4 separate regions of the Homo sapiens genome follow, and regions 1, 2 and 4 are each linked to region 3. The links are contacts of gene promoters, found by promoter capture Hi-C in blood cells and fetal thymus (Javierre and others, 2016). All regions are on one chromosome and are shown on one strand. The core of a region is centred on a gene start or on the middle of the fragment in contact, and the rest is flanking DNA. Distances in the headings are between cores, read along the strand shown.

Region 1 (2,943 bases), core at 137-2,636, 540 kb after region 3:
CTCTGAATCTCATAGTGTCAAGGCCTGCAGGAAAATGTAAGAAACTGCCCTGGTCTGCCTTGGCAATGCAGGATGCAGCATGCTAACCACAGAGCATTTCTCATCACCTCTCTAGAGACAACTCCATTCCCTTACTCCAAGCCTATAAAGTTCTGGGTAATTGTTGGAAGGTAAAGCCCACCCAGCCCAGGCAAATCTCTAACTCACCACTTTGTGGCAGCATGAGGTAATGCCAGCGAGAGGGAGGAACTTTCAGAGTCAGATGCAACCCACTTCCAGGTTCCCAGCTCATCTGCCTCTTACATTTAAAAGTTTGTAAGTTTTCTCCTGAGCAGAGGAAGAAGGAAGGAGAAGCCTTCACAGGACAGTCTGGCCTCTAACTGCTCTGCCAAAGAAATGTAAGAGTCAGGCTAAAAGCTGTCATCCTCAGCATCTTCCGGAAGGGAGGGAGGAGAGGAGCGGCTGCTCTGGGTGGAGGCAGCAGGTTGCTTGAGCAAGCAGGTACCACTCTAAGCCTTCTCGGGACAGAGAGGGGGAAGGTGGGCTTCTCTGAGCGCCTGTAGGTCCGCTGTGCCAACCCACTGTTTTGTTTGCTTTTTCTGGCATGAATGGCTGTCAGACAGTGTCCCCTGGCTTGGTCTGCAGCACCCCCTGCCCACCCTGGCCCTCCTGCAGCAAGGTGCAGCCAGGAAGCCTCTGTGATCACTCCGCAAAGGGGAGAGAGGAGGCAAGGAGAGGCAGGGGAGGCCCCCCACCTGCGCCCCACCCCGTCTCTTCTTCCTCCCTGAGAAACCGAATGAAAGCCGATCACCTCCCGCCGGCCCTGCCTGCAGGCCCAGCTGGGCTGCGTCCTGTCAGCCCTCGTCCGGGATGGCCCGGCCGCTGCGACCCGAGGGCGAGCCCCGAGGGCGGCCGGGCTGGAGAAAGGCCCCAGGGCTACAGGCCGGGCCCAGGAAGCGGCTGCGCCTCGAGGCCCGGCCTGGGCCGCCCAGAAGCTCAAGAGGCCGCTAGGTCGCGGCGGAGGGGCGCGGGGGGGCGGCCGGGCCGGCAGAGGAAGGGGTGCGGCGGGCGCGGGGGTGGCCCCCAGATGCGGCCCCGGGCGCCCCGCCGCTCACCTGCTCCAGGCCGCCTGCAGGGCAGGCGCGGGGCGAGCGGCGACCAGCTGCTCTCTCGGCCGCCCCTTTATTCCGGCTCCATCCGCGGCGGCGCGGCCTACGCGCGCTGCCAATCCCCGGCCTCGCGTAGCGGCTGCGGCCGGACCGGGGGCGGGGGACGGGCTAGCGGCGGCCGGAACGGAGGAAGCGACGCGCGCTGCCGGAGTAGCGGGGCCGGGGCGAGGAGCGCCGGGAGGGCGGGCGGACGGACCGATGGCCTTGCGGAGACGGGCGGACGGGCGGGCGGCGCGGGGGCCAGGGAGGCGGGGCCGGGGGAGGAGCGGCATCCCGGGCGGCGGCGGCCAATGCGGGAGGAGCGGGCGGCGCGGAGCGAGGCCGCCCCCTGCCGGGGACCCCGTGGCCGGGCCAGGTCGGACAAGCCGGGTGCTCCGGGCGGTTTTCGAGTCGCCAGGCCTGGGCGCCTCGACTAACCGAGGAAGGGCGCTCTGCTTCCGGCCACCCCGCTCGGGCTTAGGGGAGGGGGCTCCGGGTGACCGCCCTCGGCCCGGCTCTGCGCAGGAGAGGAGGGGCCTCCTAGAGGCTCTGGTCTGCCACAATTGATCCGCCCCTAACTGCTCAGCTTGGCTTTTAGGGGCTTGGACTTTGGGCTGGTTTGAGGAGGGGGCTCCAGGACCTCTGATCCTGGCCGGGCTCGGGGCAGGCAGGGGTCTCCGCTGGGTCTAGTGCGCTGACCCGGGACTGTCGTGTCTGGTATGTCTGGTCCCGGGTGGCTGCAGACAGCAGCGGGCAGAAAGGTGAGGGCCCTGAGCGATATATGAAATGGGTACACGAAGGCTGGGGAGGTCCCAGCGGGGTGCCGGGAGGCTGCAGGTGACCAGATCCGCGTGCGCAGCCGGCAGACAGCTTGGAGTCGGTGGGCTGAATCTTCACCACTGTCCTGCCGGGTTCCGCCCCTCCCGGCTCCGCCCCGAGGCGGTGCCAGCCCAGGCCCCGCCCCTGGGAGGGCGCTTCCGGCACAGCGGAACTCCGGGTGCCGGTTGAGGTTGCTGGTGGACCTGCTCTGGTGGTCTTGGATGAGGCCCCATGAGCGCGGCGCCCCTGGTGGGCTACAGCAGCAGCGGCTCCGAGGATGAGTCCGAGGACGGGATGCGGACCAGGCCGGGGGATGGGAGCCACCGTCGGTGAGGAGTGAGGAAGTCTCTCCGGAGGGCGCGCGCATTCACCCTAGAGCCAGACGGGACCCGAATGTCTGGGGGTGGAGTGGGGAGGGAGGATGCGGGGCGGCTCTGGGAAGGAAAAGGGGACGCAGGAAGAAAGGAGGATCCAGAAGATATACCCCTCCCCCCCACCCCAGACAAAGCTCCAGAGTGGCCCCACCTGGCTAGGGCCAAGTTGGGAGGCCAGACCTGGGTTCGGGTCCAGCCTCGCGCTGGCCCACTCTATCGCCTGGCACACATCCCTGTACCATCCTAGGTCCGTTTCCTGATTTGAATACAATTGCGATAGTAATACTTGCTAAAGCGTAGGGAGAGCCTTTTCATTCATCCAGTAAATATTCACTGAGCACCCACTCCCTGCCAGGCTGGGGTCTGGTAATTCAGTGGTGAACAAAACCGTCGGCCTTACTTCCTGGGGCTTAGATTCTTAAATGCTAGGCCTTATCTTTGCTGAGTGCTTTACAAGCAGTAGCTCAGTTGATCCCACAATTGCTCTATCAGGTAGACATATACTTTCAGATGAGGCATTTGAGGCCCAGAAAGGGGACATGACTTGCCCAAGGTCATAGAGCTAGAAAGTGCTACTCCAGCTGCAGCCTGTCCAGCTTGGA
Region 2 (2,738 bases), core at 10-2,509, 510 kb after region 3:
CAAGTGATCTGCTCACCTCAGCCTCCCAAAGTGCTGGGATTACAGGTGTGAGCCATCGTGCCTCACAATATACTTTCATTTCTCTTGGGAAGCCTCCTGGGGTAGAATCTTCCAGATGACCCAATCATATGGTACATTTCTGTTTCATTTTTTAAGAAACTGATAAACTGTTTTAAAAGTAGTACTCCATGTCTTGACCAGGGTGGGTGGTAGTTATACGGGGTCTCATTTTGTAAATTATTAGTTACATTAGATATTTATTCACTTTCTGTATTTCTTCTATTTTATAACTTTAAAAGAGTCAAGAAATAAATTGGGGGTGGGGTGGTGAGTGGAGTCAACTCTGGGAAGGTTTTTTGTAAGGGGTAGCAGTTAGGAATGCTGTTCTGGAAGCTGTATGGAGCACTGGAGGAGGAGCAACTGGGGAAACAAATCCTACAAGAATTTCACAGGAGGGGCTCCAAGACCCATCAGGTTCAGCCCCTGGGCAGGTATATGCAAAAGCACATGCCAATATATGCAAATAAGTTAGGATCTCCTGGGGTTTCCTCACCTTGGGGGTCTGTCTCTAATGGTTGTGACCAGGATGGTGGGCAGGCCCCAGGGCTTTGGGGTGCTGGCCTTGGGCACTCACAGCCTGGCTTTTCTGGGAGCCTGCAGTCCTGCAGGGGCTGAGGGTGGAGTATCATCTGCTAATCCCTGGCCTGCTGAGTCCACCACTCTCCCTGATCCCCTCACGCTTACCCTGGATACTGGCCACAGCTAATCTCCACTCCTGGAGACTCAAGGGCTGGCAGACAGTGCAGTGCCCTCTTCCCTGAGGGTTCCAGGGAGGGGAGATCCCTCTCAGCATCCAGATCCTCCTAACGGCAGATCCTAGAGTCCTTGCCTAACACAGAGGAGAGCCTTGAGTCCCAGAGAGAGGCGGTAATTAGCCCAGGATTACACAGCCTGCAGTGGGCTCAGTAGCCATTTCTGGCCTGCCTTGGCCTGACTACCTCCAGGGAACCCCAGCTCCCCATCTGACATTTCCCAAGATGCCTGGCCTGTGCTAAGGCCTGGGAGACCACAGCCTTCAGGAAGGCTGGAAGGGAGTGGCCAGAGCACAGGAATTCTGGCACAGGCTCTTGTTAGAGCCTGTAGTTGCCAGGGTTGCTAAGGAGTGGGTGCCTCAGAATCAGGCTGCAATGGGCATTGTCTGTGCACAATGTTCCTTTATTCTGCTGCTGTCCATAATAAGGGCTCGTCCACCTCCCTTCCTCTTCTGCCCATTGAGCAGTCAAAGAACTGAAAGTCCTTATAAGCCTGTGCACCTGGGCCTGGGCCCTACAGATAAGGTAGCTGCTATTGGTGAGTCAGAAGCAGGGAGCCCTTGCTCTCTTCCCCATATCCGTGATCCCCCTCCCTGTCCCTCCCCAGGCAGTCACATCCCCTAAGGCAGCTTCCCCATGCCTTGTCACCATGCCCCCTCCCTGCTCCTCCATGATCTAAGGTCCTCTCTCCTCCTGCCACCCTAGCTTCCACCTCCACCTCTCACCTCTAACTCAGGGTCAGGAAGAAAGCAAGCTGTCTCAACAAATTCTCACTAAAGTGTAAATGACTGAAAGGCTCCTGGGACTATCTGCTTTTTAAAGGGAGGCACTGGGTATCCAGTAATGCTTTTCTAGTTTAAATATATCATGTTGCTCCCCTTCCTGAAAATCTTTCTGAGTCAATCTGTAGAATTTTGGGTAAATAGCTAGGGCAAGTCCATAATTATTCACCCAGAGGTATACGGCATACTAAGCTACATTCTGAACCCGCTTGCTGCTGCACTTTCCTGCTTATTATTTAAGAATAGACTCGCCAGGCAAGGTGGCTCACACCTGTAATCCCAGCACTTTGAGAGGCTGAGGCGGGTGGATCACTTGAGGTCAGGAGTTCGAGACCAGCCTGGCCAACACAGTGAAACCCCGTCTCTACTAAAAATACAAAAACTAGTCACATGTGGTGGTGGATGCCTATAATCCCAGTTCCTCAGGAGGCTGAGGCAGGAGAATCACTTGAACCCAGGAGACAGAGGTTGCATTGAGCCAAGATGGCGCCACTGTACTTCAGTCTGAGCAGAAGAGTGAGACTGTCTCAAAAAAAAAAAAAAAAAGAAAAGAAAGAAAGAAAAAAAAACGAATAGACTCAAATACCACCTCTTTTAGACCATTCCTTGAATGTCCTAACCCCAGCCTCCCCAGAAACACACACTCTGTACTGACCTCCCTCACAGCCATGGCACAATGTGAGTGTGTGTGTGTGTGTGTGTGTGTGTATGTGTGTGTTGGAAGGGGAGTGGGAGGGTTGTCTCTGTTATCTTCTGTTATCTGAATGTTCCTGCCACCTCATGCTGAGCTCCAGAAAAATGGCCTGGCACACAGTAGGTGCTAAATAAATGTTTGGCAAGTAGACATCGGCACTGGCCAAGGTTGTTTTCATGCAGAGAAGGGTGTCTGGCCAGCATGAGCCCAGGGTGAGCCCCTTAGAACCCTCTGCCCCCCAGCTATGGCCCGCATCATTGACCTGGTGCCCTGGGACGATGGCTCCACACATGTGTATGCCTCCCCGGCCATCCTGCTTCCCATGGAGCGGCAGCGCAACCAGCTGGCGGGCGTGAAGCAGCAGCTCTACCACCCAGCCCTGCCCACCCTGCGCCACATGGACAGGGACACCGTCAAGGCCTGCCTTCCTGATGAGCACTGCCAGTCCAC
Region 3 (2,816 bases), core at 52-2,551:
CTGCCTAATACATAGTGGTAATTATAGTACCTCTGCGTCTCTGGGCTCAAGTCTTCCCATCAGTAAAATACGGGTAACAGAAGCCTTCCCACAGACCATCAGCTCCCTTGGCTGCTCTTGTCTGACGATTTTAGTGGTACATTCTTTAGCCCCAGTAATTTTCTCAGCCTCTACACTGGCTGGGTTCCCTTTGCACGTCTGGTTAGCTCTGTTTTCTGCTTTGCTCTCTTCTGCCTGTCAGCTGAATATTAATGGGGGAAAGTCAGCAACTAATTGAATTTCAGATCTCTTGTGGGTCTTCCACTGGATCTTTTTTGCACCTCTCAATTCCTTGTATCTCTTGACATCCTGTGAAGTTTTCGCAGTAGCTGTTCCAGTTTTCATTGCATTCTCCTTTTTCCTTCATAGCATCCATCTTACACTCAGCAGACAACCATAATTCTTAATTTACCAAGATGACACAGGTTATGGAGCAGGGTTCCATCAGTGCCCACCCTCTGTTTCAGGAAGAGGTGTCACTCTTTGCAAAGGCAAACTCCTCTTTATCTGGTTACTCTTCTCCCAACTCTTAAATGTATTTCCTGCCACGTTCTATTTTAGAGCTTTTCTCTGTTGGAGCAGCAGCCACTTTTTTTGAGGCCCATTTAAACCTCTCTCCAGTCTGTTTAGGGGACTTCAGTAGTTCTTTGTTGAGCATGCACCCCACATGGTGCCCACTGCCAGGCACTGGGGATGCAGAGACAAAGAGTTCCCACTCACCCACCACAGCTACACAGACTGTAGAGGAAGCATTAGGTTAAAGAACATTGTATCTTTTCCTGAAGTTTTCAGAAGTGCATGGTCCATACTTGAGACTGCAAGGGAAAGGGTATTTACTTATAATTCAGGTATACTTTGCTAAAATATACATTCATATTAAAATATACTTTTGTTTTTCTATAGATGTACAAGTTCTTTTTAAGTGCTTCATAGTATTCCATGTGTGTATACTCCACCAGGTCTCTTATCAATGGACAGTACAAACAGTACTACCACGAACGTCCCTGCACTCGTATCTTTGTTTACAACTGCAAGTGTTTCTGCAGTATGAATTCTTAGAAGTGTTACTGTTAAGTGAAGGACGTATGCGTGTTTTGCCAAACTACCCTCCGAGATAGCTGAATCTGGTACATTTTAAAGCAGGAGGCCGCAGAAGACGCTCGGCAGTTCTGGCCTCCGAGCAGCAGGCGGCGCTGTGAGTCGTCTTTGCGGAAGCCGCGGAGGCCTCGCTGACTGACTTCCGGTGTTGGCGGTGGCGCCGCGCAGTCACCGCGGAGCAGACGCGGAGGCTGGTGGCCCCTGGGCGAGATGCCGTACGCCAACCAGCCTACCGTGCGGATCACGGAGCTCACTGACGAGAATGTCAAGTTCATCATCGAGAACACCGACCTGGCGTAAGGCTACCGAGGGAAGAGGCTGGCGGCTCTGGGGCGCCGGGAGGCCCAAGCCGGGGCCCCGGGGCAGGGGGCGGGGGTGTAGTGGGGTGGGGTGGGGGCGATGTCCTTCCAGAGCTGCCCCCCTGCACCAGGGCTTTAGCTTTGGGAGCCTGCGGCGCGGGCCCAGCCTGTCGAGGCTGCAGCGCCTTCACGCCCCTTGGCTTTTGATCTTTCAGGGTGGCCAATTCGATTCGGAGGGTCTTCATCGCTGAGGTTCCCATAATAGGTAAGCGACTCCCCTTCCTCGTTCCCGCGCCCACGGGTTCCTGCCCCGCTCTCCACCCACACACTCTTTGGGGCTCCTTCCAGTCCTTGGTTCGGGCTGAGGGTGGTAGTGCTGAGAAAAGTGCATTGCTGGAGACTTGACCATACCCTGTGCCCTTGGCTCAGTGGCCGCCTCCCTGGCGCCCACGGGCCACTTAGGTCCACCCTTGTCCTGGGTATGCATTGCTGAGAAGCATGGGTTTAGCAGTGTGCAGACTTGGGTTCAAATACTGTTTTCACTACTATTGTTACAAAAGTTTTTAAAATGTTTTCAACTTTTATTTTGGAGTCAAGGGGTACATTGGTGCAGGTTTGTTGCCTGGGTATAGTGCGTGATGCTGAGATTTGGGGTATAAATGATCCTTTCACCCAGGTAGTGAGCATAGTACGCAATAGGTAGTTTTTCACCCCTAGCCCCACTGCCTCCCTTCCAGCTCTAGTAGTCACCAGTGTGTTTATTGTCATCTTTATGTCCGTGCGTACCCAGTTTTAGCTCCCATGCGGTGTTTGGTTTTCTGTTCCTGTGTTAATTCTCTTAGGATAATGGCTTCCAGGCCGCGCTCGCGCCTGTAATTCCAGCACTTTGGGAGGCCAAGACTGAGGAACACCTGAGGCCAGGAGTTTGAGACCAGCCTGGCCAACATGGGGAAAGCCCGCCTCTACTAAAAATGCAAAAATTAGCCAGGTGTGGTGGCTCCCACCTGTAATCCCAGCTACTGGGGAGGCTGAGGCAGAATTGATTGAACCCAGAAGGTGGAGGTTGCAGTGAGCCGAGATCATGCCACTGCACTCTGGCCTGGGCAATAGAGTGAGACTCCTTCTCAAACAAAAGAAAATAAAAAAGAAGATAGTGGCTTCCAGCCACGTCCATGTTGCTGCAGAGGACATGATTTCGTTCGTTCTTATGGCTGCATCACTTACTGCTTTTGTGAAACTTGGGCAAGTTATTAAACTTCTGTGTGCTGCAGTTTCCTCATCTGTAACATTCGGCCACTAATGATCCTTATCAGGGTAATGTTAAGGATTAAGTGAGGTAATCCATATAAGTGCTTTGTGTTTAGTGAGTGCTCAGTGCTG
Region 4 (2,700 bases), core at 169-2,668, 660 kb after region 3:
GTTGCAGTAAGCTGAGATTGTGCCATTGCACTCCAGCCTGGGTGACAGAGCGAGACTCTGTTTCAAAAAAAAAGAAAAACAAAACCAAAAAACCATGTCTTCGTTCAATTACAGTAAAACCTGACTCAGAATAATGAAGAACATTCTCCAAGTCAGAAAAAAAGTTTTACCACCTTTATGTCCAAATACACTCAATTCTACTACTGAAAACAGCACCAATTTAATTTTTATCAACAAGGCATGCTAACTAAAAACTAGAATGTAGGAAATTTTTTCTGAAGAGAGACTTTATTTTTAAAATTAGAACAGGACATGGGAATCTAACACTATCCAGCAACAGCAGAAGACTCTGGTCTAATATTTAGTCTTGGAGTAGGGGAGAAACAGCAGCAGCTGAGAGAAAGACAGGGTGACAGGAAAGACAGACAAAGGCGTTTTCATGAATTAATGCAATCTCATCTCATGTACTTTTAGGATACTATCTTGTTTTTTTTGAGACAAAGTTTTGCTTTTGTTGCCCAGGCTGGAGTGCAATGGCACCATCTCGGCTCACCGCAACCTCCACCTCCCGGGTTCAAGTGATTCTCCTGCCTCAGCCTCCCGAGTAGCTGGGATTACAGGCATGTGCCACCATGCCCGGCTAACTTTTGTATTTTTAGTAGAGACGGGATTTCTTCATGTTGGTCAGGCTGGTCTTGAACTCCTGACCTCAGCTCGCCTTGGCCTCCCAAAGTGCTAGGATTACAGGCGTGAGCCACTGCGCCCAGCCAGGATTACTACCATTAAGACCGAAAATTGGCTGGGCGCAGTGGCTCACGCCTGTAATCCCAACACTTTGGGAGGCCAAGGCAGGCGGATCACGAGGTCAGGAGATCGAGACCATCCTGGCTAACACGGTGAAAACCTATCTTTACTAAAAATGCAAAAAATTAGCTGGGCGTGGTGGCGGGCGCCTGTAGTCCCAGCTACTCCGGAGGCTGAGGCAGGAGAATGGCGTGAACCCAGGTGGTGGAGCCTGCAGTGAGCCGAGATCGTGCCACTGCACTCCAGCCTGGGGGACAGAGCAAGACTCTGTCTCAAAAAAAAAAAAAAAAAAAAAAAAAAAAAAAAAAGACTGAAAATTACAGCATGTTTTACACAAGTATAAGTGGGAACAGAACCTCCTGGTATTTTCCTTACAACCAGAAGTAATGTTTACATTAAACGTAAGAGTCTTTTAATAAATATAAGATTTGCTGGTCCCAGATGTCAAGGTAACATTAAAGAAACCCCTAATTTCTTCTAAGCTGTTGGTTTAGAAACTTACAAAAGCTTCTATCAGGAAACTGTATAGCCAGGAATACAGACCTTAAGAAGCTAATAATGTCAAGTGTGATAAGAAAGAAGTAAATTAACTTACCCTGAAGAGTTAAGGAAGGTCACTCTGAGAAAGGCCTTTGAACTGTGACTGGAGCCTAATGAAAAGATGGGAGTGAGGCTTGTGGGGTGGTGAGGGGCAGCGCCCAGCAGAAGGACCAGGAAGTGCAAAAGCTTGAAGGTGAGAGAACAGGACTTCCTTCAATTCAGTAGGAGGCTACTACTAAGAGGGGGAACCGGGTGAAGTGAGTCCCGCCTGGAGAACAAGTGAAGCAGGTGCCAGAGCATGGGTTATGTGGCCTTAGAGCCACATTAAGGGCTTAGGGCTGGGCGAGCCACGGTGCAACAACTAAATTCTTCTCATTTCAGGAGTCTGGTTTTACAGTACTTCCTATTCCTAGAAATCTGGATGGTGGGCTAAGTTCAAACATCTTATTTTAGTTTTGAGCAAATTCCTCAGTCCCTGCCATATTTAATTCTGTATGTCATTACTTATAAAGTACTAACTACAGTCATGCATTGCTTAAGGATGGGATTACGTTCTGAGAAATGCCTCATTAGGCAGTTCCATGGCTGTGTGAATATCAGAGTGTACTTACACAGACTTAGACAGTACAACATCCTACACACCCGGGCCATATGGTATAGCCTATTGCCCCTAGGCTACAATCTGTACAGCATACTACTGTACTGAATACTGTAGGCAACTGTAACATAATGGTACGTATTTGTGTGTCTAAACATAGAAAAGGTACAGTACTGTATAAACGATAAAAAGTGACACAACTGGATAGGGCACTGGCCATGAGTGGAGCATGCAGGACTGGAAGTTGCTCTGGGTTGAGTCAGTGAGTGAGTGGTGAGTGAATGTGAAGGCCTAGGACATTACTGAACACTTTGTAAACACAATACACTTATGCTACAATACATTTATTTTATTTAGTTATTTAGTTAGTGCTGGGATTACAGGCATGAGCCACTGTGCTTTAGTTATTTAGTTAGTGCTGGGATTACAGGCATGAGCCACTGTGCCTGGCCAGACTACACTAAATTTATTAAAAATATTTTTCTTTCATCAATAATAAATTAACCTTGGCTTACTGGAACTTTTTTACTTTATAAACTTTAAAAATTTTAAAAACTTTTAGACTATTTTGTAATAACACTTAGCTTAAAACACAATGTTCAACTGCACAAAAATATTTTCTTTCTATATATCTTTATTCCATAAGGTTTTTCCTATTTCTTTTTTTAACTTTTTAAACTTTTTTGTTAAAAACTAAGACACAAACACACACATGAGCCCAGGCCCGCACAGGGTCAGGATCATTAACATCAATCACA

What was found. Contacts are between HindIII fragments. The CHiCAGO score rates a contact against its expected background, and 5 or more counts as called.
Region 1: a contact is called between the fragment with the promoter of ZNF319 here and the fragment with the promoter of POLR2C in region 3, in 2 of 17 cell types (neutrophils and naive CD8 T cells). The highest score is 6.2, in neutrophils.
Region 2: a contact is called between the fragment with the promoter of SPMIP8 here and the fragment with the promoter of POLR2C in region 3, in 8 of 17 cell types (non-activated CD4 T cells, monocytes, total B cells and 5 more). The highest score is 7.3, in non-activated CD4 T cells.
Region 4: a fragment that was not itself captured here is called in contact with the fragment with the promoter of POLR2C in region 3 in 1 of 17 cell types (neutrophils); the score reaches 5.0 in neutrophils.

The regions. Positions count from the first base shown.
Region 1 is chr16:57,999,286-58,002,228 of GRCh38, forward strand. ZNF319 (zinc finger protein 319) reads right to left here and starts at 1,387. Exons shown (of 2, transcript NM_020807.3): 1 at 208-1,387. USB1 (U6 snRNA biogenesis phosphodiesterase 1) reads left to right here and starts at 2,122. Exons shown (of 7, transcript NM_024598.4): 1 at 2,122-2,296. The coding sequence starts at 2,199. RefSeq lists enhancers at 471-740, 1,598-1,767, 1,940-2,234, 2,261-2,360 and silencers at 861-990, 1,041-1,640, 1,931-2,180. The HindIII fragment of the contact is 9,268 bases long and covers 1-2,943 here.
Region 2 is chr16:57,975,285-57,978,022 of GRCh38, forward strand. SPMIP8 (sperm microtubule inner protein 8) reads left to right here and starts at 1,260. Exons shown (of 8, transcript NM_199456.3): 1 at 1,260-1,350; 2 at 2,531-2,738. The coding sequence starts at 2,533. The HindIII fragment of the contact is 9,202 bases long and covers 1-2,738 here.
Region 3 is chr16:57,461,378-57,464,193 of GRCh38, forward strand. It overlaps POLR2C (RNA polymerase II subunit C), which reads left to right and starts at 1,302. Exons shown (of 9, transcript NM_032940.3): 1 at 1,302-1,433; 2 at 1,652-1,701. The coding sequence starts at 1,348. RefSeq lists an enhancer at 1,160-1,454. The HindIII fragment of the contact is 6,497 bases long and covers 1-2,816 here.
Region 4 is chr16:58,122,518-58,125,217 of GRCh38, forward strand. All of the region lies in intron 1 of CFAP20 (cilia and flagella associated protein 20), which reads right to left. Among named protein-coding and RNA genes, the nearest start is that of CFAP20, 5.5 kb to the right of the region's middle. The HindIII fragment of the contact is 219 bases long and covers 1,310-1,528 here.